Regions from separate parts of the Homo sapiens genome. Here region 1 is linked to region 2. The links are contacts of gene promoters, found by promoter capture Hi-C in blood cells and fetal thymus (Javierre and others, 2016). All regions are on one chromosome and are shown on one strand. Each heading gives the region's core, a stretch centred on a gene start or on the middle of the fragment in contact. The rest is flanking DNA. Distances are from core to core; before and after follow the strand shown. Region 1 overlaps MTA3 (metastasis associated 1 family member 3). Region 2 holds the start of HAAO (3-hydroxyanthranilate 3,4-dioxygenase).

What was found. Contacts are between HindIII fragments. The CHiCAGO score rates a contact against its expected background, and 5 or more counts as called.
Region 1: a contact is called between a fragment that was not itself captured here and the fragment with the promoter of HAAO in region 2, in 1 of 17 cell types (M1 macrophages). The highest score is 5.2, in M1 macrophages.

The regions. Positions count from the first base shown.
Region 1 is chr2:42,655,544-42,660,007 of GRCh38, reverse strand. It overlaps MTA3 (metastasis associated 1 family member 3), which reads right to left. Exons shown (of 17, transcript NM_001330442.2): 7 at 3,706-3,808; 8 at 146-245. Among named protein-coding and RNA genes, the nearest start is that of MTA3, 89 kb to the right of the region's middle. The HindIII fragment of the contact is 4,038 bases long and covers 1-3,573 here.
Region 2 is chr2:42,789,781-42,794,096 of GRCh38, reverse strand. HAAO (3-hydroxyanthranilate 3,4-dioxygenase) reads left to right here and starts at 1,514. Exons shown (of 10, transcript NM_012205.3): 1 at 1,514-1,640. The coding sequence starts at 1,561. RefSeq lists silencers at 778-867, 948-1,047, 1,228-1,667. The HindIII fragment of the contact is 4,290 bases long and covers 1-1,740 here.

The DNA.
Region 1 (4,464 bases), core at 305-2,804, 130 kb after region 2:
AACCAAGTAACCAAGCCAAATCAACCTAGCAGTCAGGAAGGCTAAGAGCCCAAAAGCTCCCGGTCTACAGTATTGCCACAATGGCTTTAAAATTAAACAAGTAACAGAAGGATAAATACCCACAAAATTTCAAACCATGTCTTACCAAGGTGATGTCTCGGGAAGCTGCAGCAGCACTCATATGCAAACTAGGCTGCCTCACAGAACTGCTGCAATCCAGGGCTCTGGCGAATGTCCCAACAGCACTGAATAAACCACAAACACAATAAGGAAGAATTAAGTATCTGTTTTGGTTTGTTTTTTTAACGTTTTAAAAAACACATTTGGATAGTAAATAAAAAACTGTAAAAGAAGAGGCAAAAACAAGTTTCTGAATGAGAATCAAACATCAAATAAAAAGAATTTTCACTCTATAAGATATAATAATTGACAAGCCAATTTACTATAAACAGGTCGTTATCATGAAATCAAGAAAAAAAATAGCCTGTGCAGGGGGTAAAAAAGAAGGAAAGGGAAGCTCTGTTATAACATGTCATGGAGTAAAACATTTATTCAAATTGGCTCAAAAAATAAAAAGTCAGCTGCAGAGTTTGACTATTACAGCAAAGCAAGTTTTGACTACTTTTTAAGCCCAAATTGTAAAACTCAGTTACATTTTTCCCCCAATATATCATTAACTGTAGCAACCCCTTCCTGTGAGGATTCAACATGAAACAGATTTCTACTAAAATCTCATTTAAAAAGAAATTACCATAATGCTGATTTTAATGATTTGGAAGTCCTTCCAATATGTAAGAAACCCTAACCTTAACACATACAGCATAAAATGAAGACTCACTGCTTTTCCTGCCTGTATTTTAAACATGTTTGCTATGGAAGAGATTTTTTATTTTTATTATTTTTATTTTTTGAGACAGGGTCTCACTCTGTCACCCAGGCTGGAGCGCAATAGTATGATCATAGCTCACTGCAGCCTCAACTTCCTGGGCTCAAACAATCTTCCCACCTCAGCTTCCCAAGTAGCTGTAACTATAGGCATGCACCACCACGCCCAGCTATTTTTTTTTTTTTTTTTTGGCTAATTAAAAAAAATTTTCTGTAGACAAGGCCTCCCTATGTTGCCCAGGCTGGTCTGAAACTCCTGGGCTCAAGTGATCCTCCCGCCTCGGCCTCCCAAAGTTTTGGGATTATAGGCATGAGCCATTGTGGTTGACCCCTAAGGAAGAAATTTTATAAATATTTTAATTAAAATACAACAAACATGTTGAAAAGTACACAGTAAACAGATAGTTACTGTAAAGTGAACACATGCATGCCACCAACATACAGTTCAAGAAAGAACATGACCACAACCCAGAGGCTCCTCAAGCTCCTTTCCACAGGGAACCACCACCCTGGATTATAGCACCACAGATTAGTTTTGCTCAAATAGAATCACACAGCTGGATATTACGTCCAGCTTCTTTTGATTAAAATTACGTTTGTGGGTTCATCCATGTTGTTAGCTACAGCTGTATTCACTCATTTTCCCTGTTACGCGACATTCCGTTGTACGACGTCTCATCCCCACCTCCACTCTACTGCTGACAGACATTCCATGTGTTTCCAGTTTGGGGTTACTATGAATAGTGCCATAAATCCATTTGTATACGTATCTTTTGGTGCAAAGGTATATGCATTTCTGCTGCATAGATATTTAGGAGTGAAACTTAAGAGATACTTGTGTTAGATGACAGCAAACAGTATTCCAAAGGAGCTGTACCAATTTACACACTCACCAGCAGGATATGAGAGTATTGGTTCTAAATCTTGATCAATGCTTAGCACTGTCAGTCTTTAAAATTTTAACCATTCTGGTGGATTGGCAGTGGTATTTGACTGTGGTCTTAATTTGCATTTAGAAGATCTTTTTTTTTTTTTTTTTTTTTTTTTTTTTGAGACAGAGTCTTCCTCTGTCGCCCAGGCTGGAGTGCAATGGTGCGATCTCGGCTTACTGCAACCTCCGTCTCGCAAGTTCAAGCAATTTTCCCGCCTCAGTCTCCCAAGTAGCTGGGATTACAGGCACCCACCATCATGCCCAGCTAATTTTTTTTGTATTTTTGTAGAGACGGGGTTTCACCATGTTGGCCAGGCTAGTCTTGACCTCCTGACCTAAGGTGATCTGCCTGCCTTGGCCTCCCAAAGCACTGGGATTACAGGCGGCGTGAGCCACTGTGCCGGGCCCTTTTTTTTTTTTTTTTTTTTAAGAGATGAGGTCTTACTATATTGCCCAGGTTTGTCTTGAACTCCTGGACTCAAACAATCCTCCTGCCTTGGCCTCCCAAAGTGCTGGGGTTACATGCATAAGCCACCATTCCCAGCCTACAAGATTATTTTTTAAAACAAATATTGAAAACAAAAACATACTAGGAACCAACTCCTTGGTGTCCTTCATGCTGGCTTTGAGGGGAAACATACAGCCCTTGGCAATCAGAAAAATGAAAATACAGAATACAAATCTAATTTGAAAATGGCAATGTCTCCTAACCAATCCCCAATCTAGACAGCCTGTCTGGAGACTCTAGACCAATATTCTGTACTCAACAAGGGGCCACAAGATTGGCCCCTTTACAATGCTCATCAAGTGTCTCCATCCAGTCACTTAGTAGTTAGGTGATGGGCTCTGGACTCCAAATGCCTGGCCACCAATAAAAAGTGGGATCGTCCATGGTGACTGGCTCTATGAACAGTGATATCTAAGGATGAGCCAAGACTATTTTTTCCTCTGCATTGTGAAATAAGTTCAACACAAAATCAGACAATAACATAATGAAGACCCTTGCATCCACTGTCCAGATCTAACTCATAGTAATATTTTGCCATGTTTGGTTCATTCTTTTAAAAAATAAATATTATAAATTTGTTAGAGTTCCCTATATATACTCCTAGATCATATATACTATATATACCCATTTAATGTATTTAAAAATCCACTAATAAAATAGTTTTGTACACAGCAAACATTTTATAATTACTCTGTATACACATAAATGATCACATGGTATATACCCTCAACACTATTTGTGATGTTTATCTCTTTGCTACATATAGCTTTAATTCATTCAATTGCCATAAAATAATATTTCACTATATGAGTATACCTCAGTTCATTCATCAATTGCTTGCTGATGTACTTTTACTGTTATCATTTTTTAAATAAAAATAAAATTCTGTCCCATTCATTCTCTTAAGAAAAGGGGAGGAAGGAAGGAAGCCAGCCAGGTAGCCAGGTTGAAAGCTCTCAAGGCAAAGTGCTATGCTTAGCAACAGGCCTTACCCACACATGGATGCGGTGAGCGAATTCCAGGTGCACATTCTTATTGATACCTGAATAATCCATGTCTAGAGTAAAGCTATGTCAAGTAAAAAGGATGACTCTTTTTATTAAGGATGTGGGACTTCAGGTATTTTCTTCAGGTATAAAGAATTTCTTCTTTATACTTTTCTGTTTTCTTAATCAGTAAAAATTAATACAACTATTTTCATTTAAAACAGAAATTAATAAAATTAGGAAGCAGCATAACGTATTAAGCTTTCTTACCTAACTAAAAAAATAATACAATCAGTGGGAGAAAAGCAGAATACAAAGAAATAAAAATACATATACCTATAAATTCTTTTATATAAAGAAATTTATTGACTCAATAATGCCATACTCATACTCACCGTGCTACAACTAAAAACTGGTCAATCTGTCGATCCGTAAGTGGGCTATTTGGATCCCAAACTTTAACTTCCAATTTTGATTGTTCCCTCTCATCTGATTCTCCTGTCCAAAAATAAATAAAATGGAGTCTTGTTACTGACAAGGCATACTGTCTCATACCACTGATGACAACTGTCACCATAGCATTAGAAATGTTTATGTGTAAGGTAAGTGCCCACAGTTTTGGCATATTCTTTCAGACGTAGATGTACAACACCTCGTTAAAGTGAACACTGATGATAATGACACCAAACTAACCGAAAGGTATCTTCATTTAGTCCTTAATGTTTATTTCTGGAGTAGCTGTATGTGAGAGGCAGTAAGTGCCATGCTAAGAGACATAAAGATGAAAATGCAACAGGCTGGGTGCGGTGGCCTGCACCTGTAATCTCGGCACTTTGGGAGGCCGAGGCAGACAGATCACTTGAGGCCAGAAGTTTGAAACAAGCCTGGTCAATATGGAGAAATCCTGTCTCTACTAAAAATACAAAAATTAGCCGGGTGTGGTAGCAGGCGCCTGTAATCCCAGCTACTCGGGAGGTTGAGGCACGAGAATCGCTTGAACCCGGAAGGTAGAGGTTGCAGTGAGCTGAGATTGCGCCACTGTACTCCAACCTGGGCGACAGAGTAAGACTTTGTCTCAGAAAAAAAGAAAGAAAGCATCACTTCCACAAGATGTTTAAACTATGCATAAATACATATGATATAAACCAAATAAA
Region 2 (4,316 bases), core at 265-2,764:
CACCCACTCACCCATCCCTCCATTTAACTAACACTCAAAGCAAACTTAACACATCTCAGATCCTCAGTGCTTCATGTGTCATTGTTTACGTCTCCTCTGATTACTTGTAGATGAGAAAAATAAAGAAGGTGGTGTGAGTTACTTGGGTGCAAAACGATATTCTAGTTTTGCACTAGAAGTGCTCAGCTAAAACTGTGCTAGATAAATAACTAAAAAAAAGGAGAGAGAAAAATGAAAAAAAAAAAAAGAGCGTCAGAGAGGAAACGGGAGGGTCTCAGTGGGGAATTCGGCTTCCTGTCGTCTGGGTTTTGATTTTGAGTTGTACTAGAGGAGTCTTTATGTCTGGAATGCTGAGAAAACCAGCCCAGGCCAGGCGGGCTGTGAGGGCAGGATTTAGAGGCGTTTAGTTTCTTAAACTCTATAGTCTGGATTCCGGTGTCAGGGGCCTGAGCCATTTTCCTCCTCCCCTACCCGTCAGCTCCCACTCCCTCCAAACTTCCTAAGAAAGTTCTGAGTCCTGCAGAAAGACAGGCTTCTCCATCTTCCACACCCGCGCAGATTTCTCTTTCCTCACACATGCACGCCCAGGCCCAGCGCCCCAGCCCCTCACCCCCAGGATAACTGTTAGAGTCTCTCACACGGGGCTGTCATCATTAACACCCCGAGATTCCCGAGGGCTAGGACACTGAGGCCGGTGTCCACATCTGCCAAATTCCTCCCATAGCTGCGTGCGAACTGAGTATGTTCCTAAGACGCCTAAGGAGTTCAGCACGGGGCTCGGGGTCCACTGCGACACTGCGCGGACAGCGGCCGCTCGGCTGGGCCTCAGGTGGGGAGGGCTCGCGGTCCTGCCCTGAGCCCGGGCTCCGCAGCTCGGCGCCTGCACCGCTCCCCTCGCCGAGCCCGCGGCGGAGTCTGCCGGCCGCACGCAGCAGGTCTGGGGCTCACCTTGAATCGGGACCTGCGGGGACCGCCGTGCGGCTTCCCGCTGGGTGAGCGCCGCAGCCCTGAGTGGCGGGGCAGTCATTCCCCTTTTCCAGATGGGAAAGCCAAATCTTGAGCCCAGCGCCAGCACCGTGTTCTCAGGTGCTGGGACTTCCAACCCGCGATCTCCTCACTGTAGTATTTCTGGGAACCTTCCCTGGGATTCCCCTCGGGGCGTAGAGGGAAGGAACGTCTGGGGACAAGCGTCCAGGAAGGGTCTGGATTCTTTGTCCTCCGCCGGGAGCAGGCCCCACCGCAGGCGCCAGTGTGTGGGGCGCCCCGGAGACGGTGGCGGGGACCGAGCCCCTGCCCCGCGGAGAAGCAGAGGGCGCGGGACGCCGTTCCCCAGCGCTGCCGCCGCCGCGCTCGCCAGGGCCTGGAGTGGCGCGGAGGGCGGCGGGCTCAGACCAAAGTCCACCAGGGGGCAAAGTCCGCGGGCCCCAAGCCCCCACCACGGGGTCGCGGGGGTTTGCTCCGCCTCGTGAGCTTGGGATTCTGGTTAAAAAGGCGGCTGGGCGGAGCTGCGGGCCTCCGACGGCGGGAGGACAGCGCTGCGAGGAGGCGCCCGGGACAGTCATGGAGCGCCGCCTGGGAGTGAGGGCCTGGGTGAAGGAGAACCGGGGCTCCTTCCAGCCCCCGGTCTGCAACAAGCTCATGTGAGTCCAGCACCCCCATGGCCGCCCCCTGCCCTCGCCTCCTCCCCCTCCTCCATCTGCGCCCTCACCTTCCAGCTCCGAGTTCCTGGACCCAGAAGCTTGCAGAAGGACCGCTTTAATCTCTTGGTTCTTGGGGGAAGATGGAGACAGGCTGTTCCGGTTCCACCACATCGGTCTGTTCCTCTTTCTTGTGACTGTGGCCTTGACTTCTGAAGAAGGCTGAGCTGGTTCTCAGGCTGTAGGAGATGACATGACAGGGTGCACCTCTCCTTCCAGGGCTGAGAAACAATTCTCCAACCCCAAGTGACACTGTGCATTTTGGGAAAACTCAAAAGTGTGGGGAGGGTGGTTTTCAAGGCAGAAATGCACTAGAATGTAGGCCTGGGGGCAGCCAAATCATACACCCCAACCCTGTCCCAGAAGCCACAGGCAAAGGGGGAGGCAGAGAATCCGCTCCTTTGGGAAGATCTTGATGTCTTGCTTTTTTCAGGGCCCCTCTATGCAGGTGTGCACGAACACACACACACACACACCACACCAGACCCTCCCTAGGCCACCTCTGCCAGTAGCCTCTGCCTGCAGCACCCAACAGGGTTGGCCATCCAGCTGCCATCTTTCTCAGGCAGACCTCTCAGGCCCTCCCCTGTGGTATGGTCACCTCCCTCATCCCCCCAGTTCCATGGCGGGGCCCCACATGCCAGCTAGATCAAGGTTTACATTCCCCATTTTTGCTGTGTCCACAGGACATGGTCAGTAGGGTGGCACCTCAAGGCAAACAGCAGGCCCAGGACTATGCCAAGTGTTTTTACATCATCTCATCTCATTCTCACAGTAGCACCGTGAGGGGGGATTTTCATAAGTAACTTTTCTAGTGTCACGGAGCGCCTGTGCGATAGGCTCCAGACTCAACCCACGGAGCAGTTCGACTCCAGAGTCCACGCACACTCTTGGTTACCATGCAATACCACATGGCCAACAGTCAATATCTCCCCAAAGATCTCTTCTATCACTGTTGTTGCCCACCCCCAATTAAAGATGTAGCATCATCTTTGCCTCCTTCCAACACTTCATCCCCATCTGCAGTCGCTCCTTCTCAGTCCTCCCTTCGCTCCCCCTGAGGTCTCGCGTCCATCTGCCCGGGCCTCTCCCTAGCATTTGGTGGTTTGCTGGCATCATTGGTATTCTTGCTTCTGCTGTACCACGCCCACCTCCACCTTCGTCTTCACAAGGCAGTCTCCTTGTGTGTGTGTCTGTGTCCAAATTTCCCTCTTTTAAAAGAACACCAGACATATTGGATCAGGGGCTCACCCTACTCCAGGATGACCTCATCCTAACCTAACTACATCTCAAGGACCCTATTCCAAATAAGGTCACATTCTGCAGTACTGGGCGTTAGGACTTCAACATATAAATTTTACAGGAGGGGTTACTATTCAGCAAGGTGAGAAGCTGCTGAAGCAAGCAAGGTGAGAAGCTGCTGAAGAGTTCTGGGCAGAGGAGGGGCAGGTCTGGTTTATGCATTCTGACTGATGGGTTGAAAGAATTCTTGAGTGGAGTTGTTTAAGAATTGTCTGTATGTACCTAAATTACATCTCAGTGAAGTTGATTTTAAAAAACAACTTTCAAGCCGGGCGCAGTGGCTCATGCCTGTAATCCCAGCACTTTGGGAGGCTGAGGTGGGTGGATCATTTGGGGTCAGGAGTTCAAGACCAGACTGGCCAACATGGTGAAACCCCGTCTCTGCTAAAAATACAAAAATTACCTGGGCGTGGTGGCACGCGCCTGTAGTCCCAGCTACTCAGGAGGCCGAGGCAGGAGAATTGCTTGAACCCGGGAGGTGGAGGCTGCACTGAGCCGAAGTTGTGCCACTGCATTCCAGCCTGGGTGGCAAGCAAGACTCTATCTGAAAAAAAAAAAAAAAAAACAAACTTTCCAGGTTCCCCAGCACCCCTTAGGCCAAGACCAGACTCCATGGCTGGTCCACCCTCCTGGACCAGCCTTCTCAATCGTTCCCCAAGCTCACCCCCAGTGCTTCTAATCTCAGAGCCTCTGCACCCAGCTCTCCTGTGCACACTCTTCCCCAGTCAAGTTCCTTGCGGCTTCCCTCCCCTCCTTGAAGCTCTATGCAGCTTTAAGTTCTTTAAGCATGGACTGTTCATGACAGCCTTCTCCTGCCCTGCAACCTCATCCACCTTTCCAAACATCAGGTCCACACGTGTGTTTCCGGTTTATTGGGCCCAGCCTCCCAAAAGGGAAGGAAAAGGAAAGAGACTGGCTCTTCCGTCTTGCCTCCATGCCTCCCAGCTGGGCTGGAAAGCAGCCCACAGGACAGGACACTCAGAAAGGACCTGCCAGTCTAGTTTGGGGGCTCAGACCTCCCCCATAGCCCCTCCCCTGCCATCCACACCATCGTCATCCATGCAGGCAGCCTCTAGGCTGCTGTGCCCTGTGTGTACAAATGGTCCCAGACCCAGCGCCTCCCCTTCCCAGAGGAAAGCCCTTGCCCCTGCCCTCTGTGGCAGGGCCACCTGAGAACACCCTGAAGCCCTACACAGACACATTCTGCTGCTTATTCACCCCAGTGTCTGCACCCTGAAAGGGGACCCTGCTGTGGGGATGGGGCAGGCTGTTCTCAGGAGGTGCTGAGGTATTTTTTGCATAAAAAGGTAACACCAC